Linked DNA regions of Homo sapiens: all the other regions are linked to region 4. Evidence: promoter capture Hi-C in 16 types of primary human blood cells and fetal thymus (Javierre and others, 2016). All regions are on one chromosome and are shown on one strand. Each heading gives the region's core, a stretch centred on a gene start or on the middle of the fragment in contact. The rest is flanking DNA. Distances are from core to core; before and after follow the strand shown. Region 1 has its middle 35 kb from the start of FLI1. Region 2 has its middle 130 kb from the start of LINC02098. Region 3 has its middle 150 kb from the start of LINC02098. Region 4 holds the start of ETS1-AS1 (ETS1 antisense RNA 1). Region 5 overlaps FLI1 (Fli-1 proto-oncogene, ETS transcription factor). Region 6 has its middle 140 kb from the start of MIR6090.

What was found. Contacts are between HindIII fragments. The CHiCAGO score rates a contact against its expected background, and 5 or more counts as called.
Region 1: a contact is called between a fragment that was not itself captured here and the fragment with the promoter of ETS1-AS1 in region 4, in 9 of 17 cell types (total B cells, total CD8 T cells, naive B cells and 6 more). The highest score is 12.8, in total B cells.
Region 2: a contact is called between a fragment that was not itself captured here and the fragment with the promoter of ETS1-AS1 in region 4, in 14 of 17 cell types (activated CD4 T cells, non-activated CD4 T cells, total CD8 T cells and 11 more). The highest score is 34.9, in activated CD4 T cells.
Region 3: a contact is called between a fragment that was not itself captured here and the fragment with the promoter of ETS1-AS1 in region 4, in 13 of 17 cell types (activated CD4 T cells, non-activated CD4 T cells, naive CD8 T cells and 10 more). The highest score is 18.5, in activated CD4 T cells.
Region 5: a contact is called between a fragment that was not itself captured here and the fragment with the promoter of ETS1-AS1 in region 4, in 10 of 17 cell types (total CD8 T cells, activated CD4 T cells, neutrophils and 7 more). The highest score is 17.6, in total CD8 T cells.
Region 6: a fragment that was not itself captured here is called in contact with the fragment with the promoter of ETS1-AS1 in region 4 in 9 of 17 cell types (activated CD4 T cells, total CD8 T cells, naive CD8 T cells and 6 more); the score reaches 17.7 in activated CD4 T cells.

Annotation. Positions count from the first base shown.
Region 1 is chr11:128,658,138-128,660,837 of GRCh38, forward strand. No RefSeq gene overlaps it. Among named protein-coding and RNA genes, the nearest start is that of FLI1, 35 kb to the right of the region's middle. The HindIII fragment of the contact is 620 bases long and covers 965-1,584 here.
Region 2 is chr11:128,340,400-128,343,099 of GRCh38, forward strand. No RefSeq gene overlaps it. Among named protein-coding and RNA genes, the nearest start is that of LINC02098, 130 kb to the left of the region's middle. The HindIII fragment of the contact is 4,157 bases long and covers 1-2,700 here.
Region 3 is chr11:128,359,872-128,362,782 of GRCh38, forward strand. No RefSeq gene overlaps it. Among named protein-coding and RNA genes, the nearest start is that of LINC02098, 150 kb to the left of the region's middle. The HindIII fragment of the contact is 2,597 bases long and covers 1-2,573 here.
Region 4 is chr11:128,524,837-128,527,544 of GRCh38, forward strand. ETS1-AS1 (ETS1 antisense RNA 1) reads left to right here and starts at 1,306. Exons shown (of 4, transcript NR_120581.1): 1 at 1,306-1,479; 2 at 1,697-2,582. The region is part of intron 3 of ETS1 (ETS proto-oncogene 1, transcription factor); the gene reads right to left. The HindIII fragment of the contact is 5,425 bases long and covers 905-2,708 here.
Region 5 is chr11:128,776,282-128,778,983 of GRCh38, forward strand. The region is part of intron 4 of FLI1 (Fli-1 proto-oncogene, ETS transcription factor); the gene reads left to right. Among named protein-coding and RNA genes, the nearest start is that of SENCR, 82 kb to the left of the region's middle. RefSeq lists an enhancer at 447-1,052. The HindIII fragment of the contact is 3,048 bases long and covers 1-2,702 here.
Region 6 is chr11:128,378,290-128,381,271 of GRCh38, forward strand. No RefSeq gene overlaps it. Among named protein-coding and RNA genes, the nearest start is that of MIR6090, 140 kb to the right of the region's middle. The HindIII fragment of the contact is 1,048 bases long and covers 984-2,031 here.

The sequences.
Region 1 (2,700 bases), core at 25-2,524, 130 kb after region 4:
CCTCCCTCACTCCAGCTAACTTCTTTCCATTTTTGCCTAATCCACTCAAGCATCATTTCTGCATGGAACACTTCCCTGACTTCACAGCCCACCCTCCTGTTTACCCACAGGTCTAAATGAGTGACTACACCACCTAAACTCGTACACATGTCATTTCCTTTAAAATAATCACCATATTTATAATAATACGCTCATCTTTGTGTATTTCTGACTAAACGTCTGCCTTCTCCACCAGCCAGTATGCTCCACAAAGACAGGAACTCATTGTTCCCAGAAACTTTCAAGGGGCAAGTGCTCAGTAAATGTTTAAGGACAACTTCTTAAAGCAAACTAAATATGGCCTGAGGACCCTGCACCTCTGTATTTGAGTCCTTGTGGATGAACTGCAACTTAACTTCATAGGTAGACAAGATTGAAAACCTAACTTAGGAGTATGTGCCTGTAACAATAGCTGAGTCTTGGCCAATCCCAGCAGCCCTACTTCAACCATACACTGCTGAGTGTTCAAATAAGGCAAAGGACAAGCTGCAACCAATCCAGCTGCTCTGTACCTCACTTCCGATTTCTGTATGTCATTTCCCATTTTTTTTTTTTTTTTGGTCTATAAATCTTCCACCACGTCGCTGCACTGTATGTAGTCTCTTTGAATCTGTTGTGATTCTGGGGGCTGCCTGATTAGCGAATCGTTCCTTGCTTAAGTAAACTCCTTTAAATGTAATTCAGCTGACGTTTTTCTTTTAACAAACTAAATCTAAAAATTGTTTTATATAACACAAGTGATTTTAAAAATGAAATTGTAAGAAATGACAAATACACAAAATGTAAAACTAAATAATGTTAAGTTCAACCATAGCTATTTTGAAAATAAATATAAATGGTTTAAACATGTTGCCATATTCAATGATCACACAAGGACATGTAAATTTTCATGTAATATAATAGTTAAAAAAAATTGTACAAACAAAGCTTAATTTCTATCTCTTCTCCAAGAAACACTGGAAAGGAACCTTTAAAGTGTTAACAGCAGTTATTCTGGGTAGTAAAATTATAGATTATTTTCATCTCTTCTTTATATTTTTCAGAATTATCTATGTCATGTATAAAAAATCAATCTTTTAATCAGAAAAAAGTTATATCTGTCAGTTGTGTTTTCTGTTATAGGTTACAGAAAACTGAATTCAAAGTGAATTAAATAATAATAGGAATGTATGACTAACATAACTGAGGAGGTTGGGTTATGATTTAACCTGCTTTAATTTCCTGCAAATCTCTTGTTTTCAGTCCATTTCTGTGATTAGCTTTATCTCCAGGTTGACTTACCTCATACTGGTAAAATAGCTACAATGGTTCCAGGCTTCCCATCCTCACACCATACCATACAGAAGGAGAGGAGCCATCTACGTGCCACTCTGATTGGACCAGCTTAGGACATGGGCCCACTTCTGAACCAATCACTGTGGTTGGGAGATGCTGCTAGGTGATTTCTCCACAGCTAGAGCTGAGGGTACAGTCAACCTCCCCAGAGCCACATGTATCACCATGCAGAGATCCCGTTCTCTTGCAAATACCTGCAGGGAGCATGGAAGCTTGACAGACATGTCCACTGCAAACATTTTGAAATAAAATACTGCTTACCTAATTTTAAAAATTAAAAGGCACTATGATGCAGTGAGAACAGCATTGGGGCCATTGGGAGGCTTGAGTTCAAAGTCATCTGCCACTGACTTTGACTAGATACAAGATCGTGGACAGTTCTTTATCACTCTGCATGTTTCCTAGTCTGTGAAATGGTGACCCAAGAGACTGTCACAGGAAAGGAGCACTTTCTCCACTGTCATAGGAAAGGAGCAGGGTAATATGGAGGCCGATAGGAATTTGCAGATTTGGTTGCAGGAAGGTAAAGAAGTTGCCTCCTGAGCACTTCTCTTTTCTCAGTGCAGTAGGACGCAAGGTCCTCCTTTGGGCAGGAGGTGAAGTAGGGATGTGAGAGGCTTACAGGGAGTAGAGAAGGTTGAAAATGCAAACAAGTAAGAGAATATTTGAAAAAAATCGAAGCTACACCACAGAGTCTTATGATTTAGAACAAAAACAGCTATGGGTGGGAAATACACTCTACAAATGTGAAATAGAGAGAAGCCATGAGAGAAGCCAGTGGTTAAAAAAGGATTCACTGAGCAGACATTTGCTTTGGATTTTCTAAAATGCAGATACTCTCTTTCAGTAAGACAACTTTATAAAACTATCCACAAGGATTTTCACATGAGTCACAAGTATTCCTACAGAATTCCAACTAACGGCTGGGTGGCGTAAACATTTACCTAACTTTTGAGTGTCATCAAGACTAAGCCATTCATGTTAAATTCAACTCAGCCTGGAAAAGACAAGAGAACTTCAAAACAACAACAGCAACAACAGAGTAGCCTTTTTCCGGAGTCAGCAGGAGGAGCGAGTGATATAGCTTGGGAGTGCAGGATTAGGGATAACGTTCAACAGGTGGCCTACAGAAGGGAGTTCTCTGCAGAGGACGTGGAGACGATATTACTGAAGTCTTCTTTTTTCCCCATCTCAGGCAAGGTGGGGTTATAGGAAGTACCCTTGGACTTTTCTTCAAAGTATCTAAGAGCTTACCTCCCTGCCCCCACCCTTTCTGTTTCAGTGAAAACTTTGCCTGGCATCCCAGCCTTGAGGAAATTTACCTCC
Region 2 (2,700 bases), core at 166-2,665, 180 kb before region 4:
ACAGACAAATTCTATATGATAAGAGAAAGACAAATACTGTATGATCTTACTTATATGTGGACTTTAAAAAAGTCATATTCATAGAAACAGAAAGTAGAATTAGAATAGTGGTTGTCAGGGGCTGGGGGAAAGAGAAAAGGAGAGATGTGGTCAAAGGGTACAAACTCTCCGTTACGAGAATAGGTTCTAGAGACTTAATGTACAGCATGGTGACTATAACAATACTATATGATATAATTGATTTTTTTTTTTTTTTTTGAGACAGAGTCTTGCTATCTCCCAGGCTGGAGTGCAGTGGCATGATCTTGGCTCACTGCAATCTCTGCCTCCCGGGTTCAAGCGATTCTCCTGCCTCAGCCTCCCAAGAGGCTGGGACTACAGGCACGCGCCACCATGCCCAACTAATTTTTGTGTTTTTAGTACAGACGGGGTTTCACCATGTTGGCCAGGATGGTCTTGATCTCTTGACCTCATGATCTGCCTGCCTCGGCCTCCCAAAGTGCTGGGATTACAGGCGTGAGCCACCACACCTGGCCTTGAAATATTTTTAAACAGTAGATCTTAACTATTCTCACTGCACACATACACAAAAGATAACTATGAGGTTATGGATCAGTTAACTTGTTTGTGGTAATCATTTCACAATGTATACATCTATCAGAACATCATGTTGTACATGATAAATATACTCAAATTTTATTTGTCGATCATACCTCAGTAAAATAGGGGGAAAAATAATCTGTGTTGAATTGCTACAGTCTCTGACAAAATTATTAATAAGTTAAATATGTATTAATTTTTATTTACAGCTTTATTTTTACATTTTGGGCCCAGTCATTCTTTTTTCTAGTCTCATATTTTGTGAAGGCATCGAAAAACATGCTGACCGTAGGGGCACCATGGCTATAACGACTTGCCTACAGTTTGTTTCCAAGGAAAAGCCGTAGAAAGGATTAGAATCTCACAGTTGGATTATGTCTGTAGTCTCTTAAAATGAATACTGTACTGTGCCAAACAACCTTTAGTCTCCTTGCTTAAAAGCCTCAAGTCAGATGTATGATCTCTCTTACTCTGAGGAAATGCAGGGGCGTGTCCCTGGTGATCATCTTGGTTGAGTTTCCTGTCTTGGCTCCGTTGCCTGAAACCTCATCCAATGTCACCTTTTAGTGAATCTAAAAGCCACTCAGAAAATAGGCAGAATCTACCTATTACTCTGAATTATTCGTGGGCAGGGCATAGCGTACCCATCTCCCAAATCACACTTCAGCTTTAGGATTTCTACGTCTTACCCCCATAGGTATTTTGAGGAGCAGGGCAGCCTCTATCGTGGCTTCATTTATTTTGCTTTCGGAAAAGTGGAAAGAGATTTCCCTAAGCACTGGAAAGAATCTGAGATAGGAAAGAGAAAGCCAGAAGAGAAACAAACTTCAGACAGCAGCGTGGAGGAAGGAAGTGGAAACAGAGACCAGATGAATTCCGCTCCCCAACTTTCAACCCAAAACTGCCTCCTGAGCTGCGGGGTCCCAGAGGCTCCTGGGTCCTCCAGCAGGAATCAATGTGCACATTTCCATATCAAAGAAACAAGCTCCCCGCACAGGACCTCAGTGAAAGGAGATCTGCACTGAGAAGAAAGCGAAGTTAGGCGCCTCGGCAAGCATTTAGAAATAACTTTAAGCACCAGCAGCTCAGGCCTCATTTTTGTAATGCTCAATCACGGATCACCTATCGACCAACCCATCAAACTCCCCGCCCCCAGCACTTTTATTTCTCCTCTTTAGGAAGTACACTTCAGTATCTTTGGCACAGTGCATGAGCACGACTAAAGTAAAACATCGCAGAAAACATAGCTTTAGTCTACCCTTCGTGTCCTAAAAGGAAAACCAGTAGCTTCCCAGGCCACCGGAAGGGCAACACATGTCCTCTGCAGTTTCTGCACACGGGAAGGTAAAGACAGAGAGAGGACCTACTCCTCAACACAGAAACATTTCAAAATCTTTCCTCGCCTGCAACCCAAGCTGAAGTCATTCTCCCCAGAAATAACAAAAGTTGGAAGAGAAGCCGGAGACAGGATAGGTGCAGGAAGCCCACACTTTGAGGGCAGCACTCAGACACCCTCTCCTGTGTGCAGGACGTGCCGAATGTTCAGGTGCAATGAGAATGAGCCATGCTTGGCTTACGAGGGCAATCTGGCCCATCAAGTGGCCTTCGCCTCTGGGAGTAACAAAAATGCACTTCAAAATAGCTTCTGTAATCAAGCTGCATGGGTGGAGTACTCCCCAGCTGACTCCAGGAAGTTCTCTATCCAAAGCTATTCATTAGGCCAGAGCTGTGCAAATAATTAGTCACCCACTTGCTCCATAACCCTCCATGACAGCCCAGGCATTGAGTCCAGGTGGGACCATCAAGCCATGCTCTGGTGGCTCATGCATTATCATAGAAATGGGAGGCTTTATTTATTTTACTAAAAAGAACAAAAACAACAGACTGCTGTCCTTTAGACAATAGGATCACGTCATCTGAGCCCTCTGTGCCCCAGGTGACAAGCCCAGCCCCAAGTTCTCTTTCCTCAGCCTCCCCACACATGTTCTGGAGGAGATGGGCCCAGCAGGCTGCTCTGAGGCCTGGCTGTCTCATCCTGAGAATGCGTCACCGTGAAGTGCCCTTGCAGATGTTTCCTGGGCTAAGCCTGACAAGGCTGAG
Region 3 (2,911 bases), core at 25-2,524, 160 kb before region 4:
TTGTTGGCTACTACTATGTTCTTTCAATTTTGGAATAAACATAAATGTGACCCTCAAACACTTGTTTTAATAAAATCATTTAGTGTGTGTGTTTTTTCTTCCTACCTTAGCCAAATGTTATTGAAAGTCCAGTGGGGTGGTTAAACCCTACCTTATCTCCTTAACAGTCACGAAGATCATAGAATTTTTGTTTCAGAACCATGACCACCCCCTGCCCAATGACTTGTGTAATCCAAGATAGATCTGAAGGTGATTGCACATGATACAGATTTAATTCTATGAACATAAGTGTAGAAGTGAAAACACAAAGCCCTTTGAGTTAGATTTATCCTTTCATCATTGATAGTAACAACCTTGGATATTCGCACAGTACCTGACAGTTTACTAAAATGTACTTATTGTTGTCATATTTAATCCTTCCAAAAAAGTAGGAAGGTGTTTTATTATTATTATCATTGCCTATATCTTATGGATGCAGAAACTCAAGTTTGGAAACATTACATGATTTGCCAAAGGCCAAATGTAAAACAGGTTTTAGAAACCTGCGAGGTGTGGAGGAAAGTGTACAGGCTCCAGCCAGACAAAACCTAGTTTGATTTTTGGTTCCTCCACTTATAGCTTTATGATCCTTGACCTAAACAGCGATTACAACAAAATGTATCTCATGCTCACTGTGCCCAGGTCAATGTTCTAAGCACTTAGCTTGTCTTATATTATTTAATCTTCATAAGAGCCTATGAAATAAGTTCCATCATTATTCCCACTGACAGCTGAAGAACCTGAGACACAAAGGGATGGGAAACTTGTCTGGAATCTTCTAACTGATCAGTGGAAAAAACAGAATTAGAACCCATGTAATTTGACATCAGAGCCCAGGCTCCTAAGCACTAGGAAACCCCGTCTCCCTAAGTCAGTTTGCTTCTCTCAGTCACAATATTCTCATTGGTAAAAGGGAGGTAAATGGTGCCTACCTTGCACAATTGTTATTAAAAGTAGAAATAATATCCATCAAGTACCTAGCAAAATTCTTAGTAGGGCACTCTCACCAAATTTTCAGATTTCTCTAACCCACGTGAGATTTTCCATGATATGCTAGGCCAGGATTTTTATTCTGAACCCATTTTGGAGTCCATAAATGAGCTTCAGAGACAATACAACCCTCCTGAAATGGCATCGGTAGGTCTATCTCTGTCTCTGTCTCTATCTCTTTCTAGCTGTGTGTGTTTGTGTGTGTATGTGTGTGTGTGCGCGCATGCATGCACTCATTTTTCTGGGGACACTGTCTCTAGCTTTCATCAGATTCACAAAAATGTCCATGTCTCCCAAAGAAACATTAGCACTACTGTTGGATAATCTTGAAATAAGTCATATACTCTCCAACTCTATTTTTTCATGTATAAAATCATTTAAATATTTTATCCAATCAACATCCTCAGCAGAAATGTGTTTGCCAATTCAACTTACTGTTAATCAAGTTTTAAGCTCATGTTATAAGAAGATCTATTTCGTTTCTTGGATGGGTATAATTGAGTTTGAAGATCTGAGGAAAGAAATGTTTCCTATATCTTGGCCTTCCTCCCTATCAGCTGGCTGTGTTTGGGGCTGAGAAGAAGTCTGCATCAGCACATGTGAGTGTGTGTGTTTACATGGGCCCCAGGGGAAGTGATGACTGTGAGGCAGGCTGTATGCCTGTCCTGAAATGTCTGCCCTCCTCTTATCAGAAACCAATGTGCGTGTTTATTCTATTCCCTCATTAATCTCCTCCCAGCAAACCACAGACTGCCACAAGCAGCTTGATGTCTCAGCACACTTGGCAGCCAGGCAGGTCACTAATGAGTCCTCAGCACCCTGGCCTTGTTTGTTGCTCCCCAGCCCACCAGGAACTGGACTCTGCTGGGCTGATGAGAAGTGGGCGGAAGGGAGTGTACTGGCCCCACAACCAAGGTGCGCACAGGGATGGACAGCCCCAGAGAGTCCCAATCCTCACACCGTCAAAGGACAGCAGACACAACTGATGCCAGTTTATATGAGGTTGACATGAAGTTCAAACCAGCCCACTGCTATTTTTAGTGGAGAGGTTGGCGGTGTGATTGCAGAGGGCCTTATTTAATAAATCACCTACTCCCGGGATTCGAGAATAAACAAACGCTATGAGCAGTGTGAAGCTGCCATCACCCCTCCTGCTCTGCATTTGCTTTCTCACCTTTGCTCGTCTTCTATTTCTGTTTTTCTGTTCCCACTTCTGTACTTCCTTCAGCTGGCTCTTTGAGAAACACAGCTGAGCTTAATGCATTCATTAAGTGGAACTAAATATTCCCGAAAAAAATTGAGTTATGACAACTTTTTGAATAAATATTTCATGGTCCTTAAAAGATTCTAGGGATGTCTCTATAAACCACCTTCCAAACCCTCTTGCTTAAAGGGCTCTTGCCTCATTAGGGCACTGGCATTTCAATGTTGTATGCATTTTAACATTTAAATTAAAATTGTTCTAATTTAATAGCTTCATTCACCACAGCCTCTTATGTTATTATAATCACCTGTAAGTTATGCAATGGTGATAAATGGCATAAAGCTTTAAAGGTTTCAGATAATCATACCTATTTTATTCTCTCTCTCTCTCTCTCTCACCTCCTGAGCTCAAGCAATCCTCCCTCCTCAGCCTCCTAAGTATCTGGGACTACAAGCATGTGCCACCCTACCTAGCTAATTTTTTAAATGTTTTTGTAGAGATGGGGTCTCATTATGTTTCCCAAGCTCATCTCAAACTCCTGGGCTCAAGCAGTCCTCTCCCCTGGGCCTCCCAAAGTCCTGGGATTACAGGTATGAGTTACTGTTCCCAGCTCCTATTTTCTAATCTCCTCCCACACATTCCCCAATCTTTCATAATCTAGGTTCTGCTCCCATCACT
Region 4 (2,708 bases), core at 56-2,555:
AACTAAAAAGTGTCAGAGGCTGTGCCCTTTTCCCTTCATAGTAGAGCAGAACCTCTATCCCCAGCACTCACGTCCACTCGGTTACATGTATGCCTCAGTGTCCCCACCAGCCAAACAACAGCAGCCAAGCGTTGCCTTTCATCCACTTGGGCAAGATACTTCAATACCATATCTGGTTTTTAAGGCACTCAGGAAAAAAAAAAATCAATCAAATAAATACTTCTGTGCTTGTGCTTGTACTGCAGCAGTCTGTTCCTCCTGCATTTGGGAAAAAACAGAATTGTATTTTTAAGCATTCCTTAGACTTCGGCTAATTATATCCTACCAAGTGCTGAATTGCCTTACACTAGGAACGTGAAGTCAATAAGGGCCAAGAAAAGTCCGCAGGAGTTGGGGAACAGAAGAGTGGAGCTAGACAATAATATTAAGAAAATAGTCACCTTCATACAGGAATTCCTCAAGCACATGGAGTATGTAAAAAGCATACTTTCTTTTTTATTTATACTCCTCCCTCAACTCCACCCCAACTTCAATAAAAAAGAAATATAAATATACACTTAATGTTGAACAATCATGGAAGACAGACTTTCCCTCTCCAGAAGTGTCCTAGCATGTTATCTACTCCTGAGTCTTGAACTTCAACAAAACAAAGAATCTCTGAGTTTTGAGCTAAAATATGCTTTACTGAAGGTAGGTACAAAAACATTCAGACCACTAACGGCTGATCCAGAACCAGTTTATGACTCACAGATGTTGATTTACTGGTATAAATGTAAGATTTAGAAAAAAAAAAAAAAAAAAAAAAGCCCTCAATTAACAACAACCTGTCTGAGCTGCATTTGTGGTCTCATTTTTCTCTGAGAAAAGGCAACAGTCTCTGTCATACACAGAAACAAGCTTTGAAAGCTTACTTCTAAGGCAAGTGGTTTCTATGTGAGAAGTTTAGTCATTAAAAGTCACACTAGGGAAGAAAAATGCCTGGCACTTCAATATCTACATTATCAAGCAGCAATAAAATGGAAAATTAGAGATAGGAAGGAAAATTAAAATAACTCTCTTAATTAAACTTGGATGCCAAAAAGCCTTAGGGTCAGTTAAGGGACCCAAGCCAGGGGACTCAGATGGTACTGTTGCTGACTGCAGGCTGGCTCTGTGACCTCACCAAAGCCACTTAACCTTTTTGTGTCACAACCTCATCTCTGTTTCAGGGAATAAAATCAGCCCTAGCTCTCCCTAGAATGGAACACAGACTCATTGGCTATTGTTTAGAAGGCACAATAAACAATGAGGGTAGGAGGAGCTGCAGTCAGGAGGGAAGAAGGGAGGGTGGGGTGGGGTTGGGGGAGAGGGGAGGACTTGGGAGCCTGTTTGCCCTGGAAAGCTCAATATAAGAAAACAAAGAGGATAGTAGTGTGGGCTTTGGAATAAGACTCAGGTTCAAATTCTTACTCTACCAACTAGCCAGCTGAATTGCCACAGGTAAGTCATTTAAACAATCCCGAACCTCAGTTCCTCCATGTTTCAACTAGGGATAATAGCAGCACACACCTTTTAAGGCTATTTGAATGATTAAATGAGATAATGTATGCAAAGAATTTAGCACAGTGTCTAGGTGAGAATTAGTATTTGATTATTGTTATTAAGATCTAGTATACGGTAGAATATGTGGGAAATCACATTAAATGTCTGTCTACAGCCATCTCTTTGCAGAATAGCTTGGATGCTCAATTTTCCTGAACGATCTCCAGCGAGAGATAGAACAACTATCACCACATTTCATTTAAAAATCTCTTCAAGACCCTTCCTCAGTTCTTAAACTGGCAACCTGCCCAGCATCAGCCTCACTTGAGAAATTCGAGAACTACCTGATTGGAGAAGAGAACTAGATTTATATTTGTTTTGAGTCACAGAAAAGTGACAGTTTAAATTCTGAAAGAAGATCACATTTGTAGTGCCTCTTTGGAGACAAAACCTTAGGTCTTGGATTTGTCACATGTTAGAGCTCAATGGGAGTTTATCAGTGCTCTCCAAGTCCAGCACTCCTATTTACCAGAGGTGAAAAATGAGTGTGAGTGAGGAAATTATTATTTCCAGGGCCACACAATCTAAAAAAGTCAGTGTCAGTACTAGAACCAGATGCCCTGATAGCAGTTCTCTCCCTGGCATCTCCTTGCATTTACTTTGCATTTCACTTTGGCAGGAGAAGTACCAGACACCCTTGAGACACAAGACAGGATACAATGGACATGGGAGTAGATAGATGAGCAGACTCAATTTCTAGAAATCCAACTTCTCTACACTGGATGTATTGTCTTTGGGCAAATACATTGCAGGATAACCACACTATGGTTCCCTGTGGGAGACAGCTTGGCATGGGCTGTCAGGAGAGAAAGGGCCTGGGTTGGCTCTATTGCTGTCTGCAGTTTCTTTAGACTATAATTATGAACCATTCAACTGCATCTGCAGCCCCAACAATGTGGGGTGGATTGGCCTAATCCACAGACCAAGCGACATTTTAAAATCCAGCAGTTTAGACACGTATTCCTCTTGCAGCAAATCAAACATGGCTCAGACAGGAAGAGGTAAGGAGCTGCCCAAGGTTAGAGGGTTCTGAGGTCTCATCCACACTCAGTGTTGTGTGCTTCCCTGAAGCAGGCTGAGCATGTTGCCTGGAATTGCTGCAAATGCAGAATGCAGGCTACTCTGTG
Region 5 (2,702 bases), core at 28-2,527, 250 kb after region 4:
CCCTCCCCCCCACCACCACAGGAAATGCAAGGAGGACTGTGATGGCTGGGGTGGCCACGGTTCTTGGGGGTAATTCCCATGAGTCCTGGGAAACTCCAGGGTTTACACCTGTCAATCCCAGCACTTTGGGAGGCCAAGGCGGGTGGATCACCTGAGGCCAGAAGTTGGAGACCAGCCTGGCCAACGTGGTGAAACCCCGTCTCTACTAAACATACAAAAATGAGCCAGGTGTGGTGGTGGGCGCCTGTAATCCTAGCTACTTGGGAGGCTGAGGCAGGAGAGTCGCTTGAATGCGGGAGGGGGAGGCTGCAGTGAGCTGAGATCGCACCACCGCACTCTGGCCTGGGCGATAGACCGAGGCTCTGTCTTCAGAGGAAAAAAGGTTGCCCCCTTGTGGACAACTATCTACAGTACCCATTTTGAAGCTGAACCCACTGAGGCCCAGACAGCTTCAGAAATTGGTTCAAAGGCATCCAGCCGATTGAGAGCACCTGGCATCTCAGACTAGGGCCTCTGGAGTCCCAGTCCCTGGCCTCGCGTTGCCGACGTTCCCCCGGCCCTGGAGACAGCAAGCCAGCCTGCGCCACACAGGCAAGGCAGCCTCACTCCCGGCCTTCCACGTGGGCAGCCCGGCCACTTCCCCCACAGCATTTTCTGTTGTCATTTGTACCAAGAGATAAATGCTTTCCAAAAACTTTCCTGTGGCCTCCTGGAAGGAGGCCGATTAAGCCAAACCTATCACCACGCTAACTTTGTCCTTCTCTGGGCCTGACTGTCGGCCCCACCAGTATCTCTCCCGGACACACCCCGTGTGGCAGAGGAGCCTTCGCAGCAGCTGCTGCGGGAACGAGATTTGTCCCTTCTCAGGCCAAGGCGGGGAAGGACCTCGAAGAAACGGAGGGCGCCGGGCTGGCAGTTCAGGCTCAGGGCCGCTGGGGGGAGTTTGCGCAAGGCTGGGAGCCCCGAGGCCCCGGGGGAGGTGGGGAGGCAGAAAGAAAAAGAGCCTTTTTTAAGTTTTACAAACAAGTTCGTTTTGTATGTCAATCTGGGTCTGACCTGGAAAAAAAAACACTAAGAAACTGCGTCTTCAAACAGTGGCTGCTCAAAAGAATGAAACTGCGCGACCGGGAGACCACGGAAAGGGTGTCTATCTTCATTCCCATTTTTAATTTAAACTTTAATGGAAAACACATTTTGCATTTTCTGGTCTTTCCACCTGCAGCCTCAGATGGTCGGGCAGAGGTTTTGAGTCTGGGCAATTAAGCTGGTGCAATCTTATCACTTCCAGGCCTGGGTTTGACTGGTGAAGGAGAACAGAATGCCAGCTGAACAAAAGGCCAGGTTTCCCTGGACCCAGTAGTCAGCCAGGATTGTTGTTTAAAGATCCCAGAGCCTTGCACCCTCCCGCTCCTGCACACTCAGCCAGAGCTGTTGATATAGCAGTGCAGCCCAGAGAAAAGAGAGACCTGGATTCAATAGGCTGGCTGTGAGGGGGCACTGGTGAATTCTATGGTCACAGCGAGGCAGGAGACAAAGGCTTTGGCACTGGGACGCTTGCGCCCCCTGGCCCAGGTGTCCCCGATGAAAAGCAGGTTAGGTTGAGGGAATGTGAAGCAGCAGAAACCGTGATTGTTGGGGTTCTACCCCACACCTGCAAAGCCTCACACTGCTCACTCCCCTCTCCTTTCAGATCCAGGTACTGTCTCTAGCAGCACATGGATTCAAACATGGAATGGAAAATGATCTTTTCCCCATGCTTGCACTTTGGGAAGGCCATTCTATTCTCAGCAGGAGCTACTTTATGCTTTTTAGAGCAAAAATGCCCTCAATAAATAGATATATGTATATGCATACACACCCATATACAAATATATACATACAAACACATATACAGAAACTTACAAATAACCAAGTAGGCAAATCTTATACTTCAGTTTGAACTGAAGTACAACACAGAGAGAAGTGCAAAAATCATGAAGTGCGCTACGTGAGACATTATCGTGACGTGAATCCACCCACTCCCATAAGCACCTCCCGGGCCAAGGAGTAGAATTTCAGCCCCCTGTACCCTCTCTCCACCCCACAACCGCTTCCTCCACAAAACTAACCACCACCCTGCTTCCCAGCCCCATAGGTGAGTTTTGCCTATTTCTACGATTTAGCCTGGAGGCAGTGGGATCTGCCAGATTGAGGACAGGTTTTGTGAATAGACCACGATGGGGCTCCTGCCTTCTGCACTCTCTGGCTGTGTGATCCTGGGAAAATGATATGACTTCGCTGAGTGTTGCTCCTTTCATCTGTAAAAAGGAATAAGGGAATGCTGGCTCTGTATGGCTTATGCAAGGATTAAGTGAGAAAATAGATGGAAAGCGTCTGGCACACCGTGCATGTTCAGGGAGCACTGCGTCCCCACCACCACCTTCATCATGGCCTGTTTACCCTGATGTGCTGGCATCGGGAAGGTGGGGGAGCTCAGCAGCACAGGCCTGTGGCAGGGTCAGGCCAGAAAGAGCCTCAAGGCAGGAGAAAGCAGTCCAAAGCCACAGAGAGGGAGGCCAGACTCCAGGAGGACCTGCCTGCATCAGAACAAGTTCCTTAAGAAAACAGAGCCTGGGGAACTAATGAAGTAGAAATCGGAGAAGAGGAGGGAATCTAGGTCCCTTGGGAGAGAGGCCAGATGCCCCCAACCAGCCCCTCCTTGG
Region 6 (2,982 bases), core at 258-2,757, 150 kb before region 4:
CCTTATACCTTATACAAAAATTAATTCAAGATGGATTAAAGACTTAAATGTTAGACCTAAAACCATAAAAACCCTAGAAGAAAATCTAGGCAATACCATTCAGGACATAGGCATGGGCAAGGACTTCATGTCTCAAACACCAAAAGCAATGGCAACAAAAGCCAAAATTGACAAATGGGATCTAATTAAACTAAAGAGCTTCTGCACAGCAAAAGAGACTACCATCAGAGTGAACAGGCAACCTACAGAATGGGAGAAAATTTTTGCAATCTACTCATCTGACAAAAGGCTGATATCCGGAATCTACAAAGAACTCAAATAAATTTGCTTTGTTTTCTAGAAGCAAATGTATTTATGCTTCCTAAATCTGCCCTTTACAGGTTTTTATTGGTCAACAAGCCACAATTCAGAAGAATGGGACATACCACACCCAGAAACCACTGGCCCAGTACGCAATTCTAACATGTACCCTCTCCTCTTGTCCCTCACCCATGCCATGTTTATGCTGGTCTCAGGCTTGTGTTTGTATTTTACCCATCTTGAATGCTCTCTCTTTTTCTTTCTATTGAAATCCTACCAATCTGTATTGGTCAGCCCTGGCTGCCACGACAAAATGCCACAGATGAGGTGACTTAAACAACAGAATATTTTCTCACAGTTCTGGAGGCTGGAAGTCTGGAATCAAGTTGTGGTAAATTCAGTTTCTGGTGAGGGCTCTTTTCCTGGCTTGTAGATGGCCACCTTCTTGCTATGTCCTCACATGGCAGAGAGGAAGAGGGAGGTCTCCCTCTGGTATATCTTCTTACAAGGACACTAATCATATCAGATCAGGACCCCATCTTTATGACCTCATTTAATCTTAGTTGCTTCCTTAAAGGCCCCATCTCCAAATACAGCCATGCTTAGGGTTAGGGCTTCAACTCTAGAAATAGGAATGGCAGGGAGAGGGGCAGAAACATTCAGTCCGTAAAGCCATTGTTCAAAGCTTAGCCCACATCATACCTTCTGGGAAAACCCAAGTCAATCTGAAGCCCTACCAATGATCATCTGTTCCCAAAACTCAACACCACCAAAACTTGTTTTAATAATCTACGACTCTACTACGTACAAGATTTTCTTGTCAACAAACATTGATGCTTTCTGAAGTAAGGTATCATATCTTACACTTCATTGGAATCTACTATGACCTGGCAGTGTCGGGGGTATATAGGAGATAACTAAACAGCACTGAAAAGATGAATGATTTATTACTATTTCTCCAGCTGTGTTCCTATATGATGCTCTAGTAGAAGGATGCAAATGTCTCCCTGTGAAAGGGACACTCTCCAAGGCAATGGCAGTGCCAACACCCACCAGGGGCTGTTGGCCATCTTTCTGTTCTTCTGAAGGAAACATCAAAGGGCAGTTAGTACAGACCCTGCACACTCTTACTCACTCTTGATACCTCAAACAGCAAAGTGCCAGAATGAATCACTTTTCTGAGCCAGGAGGTAAATGTGGCCATTTATAGATAGAAGGAAGAGATTAGGTATGTTGAAAGGGGAAGGTTTTTATGCTTTGCTTTTGATCCCCGTCTGGCACTCCCCAGAGCTGCCATGTGCCCCACACCTGATAAATACTGTTTTATAAATGGCAAAGAAGAGAATTTAAAGCCATAAATCTATCCCCACCCCCCTTGCTTTTTTATGGATCTAAAGGATAATTAAAACCATGCTCTTGCTTTGCAAATGAAGACTTGTCTTTCTGGCAGTCCCCATTTCAAATGAACTTGGGAGCAGTGTCAGTGCAAAGGGCAGCCTTGGGTTGATGCTGTCCAGGCTGGGATGCAACTGTCTCTAACCTTGTAGGTCTCAGGGTGTGTGTGCACCACCCAGGGGCTGCTGCAGTAAGCGAGACCTCTACACAGCTCTGCCTGGTGCTTTGAACTTGGTTAATGCACAGTGCTAATGAGGCCCAGGTCAATATTTAGCTATTTTCAGAGAAAAAAAAGAGAAAAACAATGTCCTTCTTTGGCCATAGACTGCTCCCCCAAGCTTCAACCACTTCTTTCAGGTATTCATAGACACAGGAAAACTGAGAGAAGGAATATGAATGGATCAGGACTGCCAGAGAAACCATACAAAATATTACATCATCATATAAATGAATCATCATAAAGGCCATGTACTGTCAAGGAAAATGTTTTTGTTAAAGCTGTAAGTGGAAAATTAATAATATAAAATACGTTTGCATTATGAGGATAGAAAGTAAAAATAAATTATTTTTTACAATATATTTTCAATTATCAAATAATATGTGTGCACATGGTTGAAATAAAGAATAATAAAAAGGGCTTATACATGAAAGGCCTCTGTCCCTTCCCTCTTCCCCTTCCCCTCCCCAGAGAAAACTCTTTTAACTCTTTGGGCTATTTTTCTGGGAGTTAGTGCCATCTTTCTAGACAATGCATGTTTTTGCCTGCACTTTTAATTTATTCATTTTATACATTATCTTTTGAATCCCCACTATGATAGATTAAGATTTAGTTCACACAAACTCACCCTAAACCCAATCTCGTAGTAAATAAAAATTATGTCATTTATTCTTTAATCTTTTGTAATTACTTATTATCATACTTTTGTTTCTTGTTTTACCAACTAAAGGCAACATCTTTTAGCATCCCTGTCTTTTCTTTCTACTCTCAGCTCTCCCCACCGCACCACCTGCTACCTCCCAATTTCTCACATGCGCACTTCTTTTATATTGTCACAGAGGAGGGAAGGTACATTTTATTCCATAGCCAGCTTGCATCACTGAGCTGATTATAGAAGTTGAAAGTCAACTAACCCTATCCCTGTTATTTTGACTGTGTCAGTATTGCACAAAGCAGAGTAACGTAGTGTTTTCATGATTACAGTTCTTTCTTATAATGCTCTATCCTTTTTCTGAGATTTCTAGATGCCAGTTTTTTAAAATTTTGCCTTTATCACACTTTAGAATTTT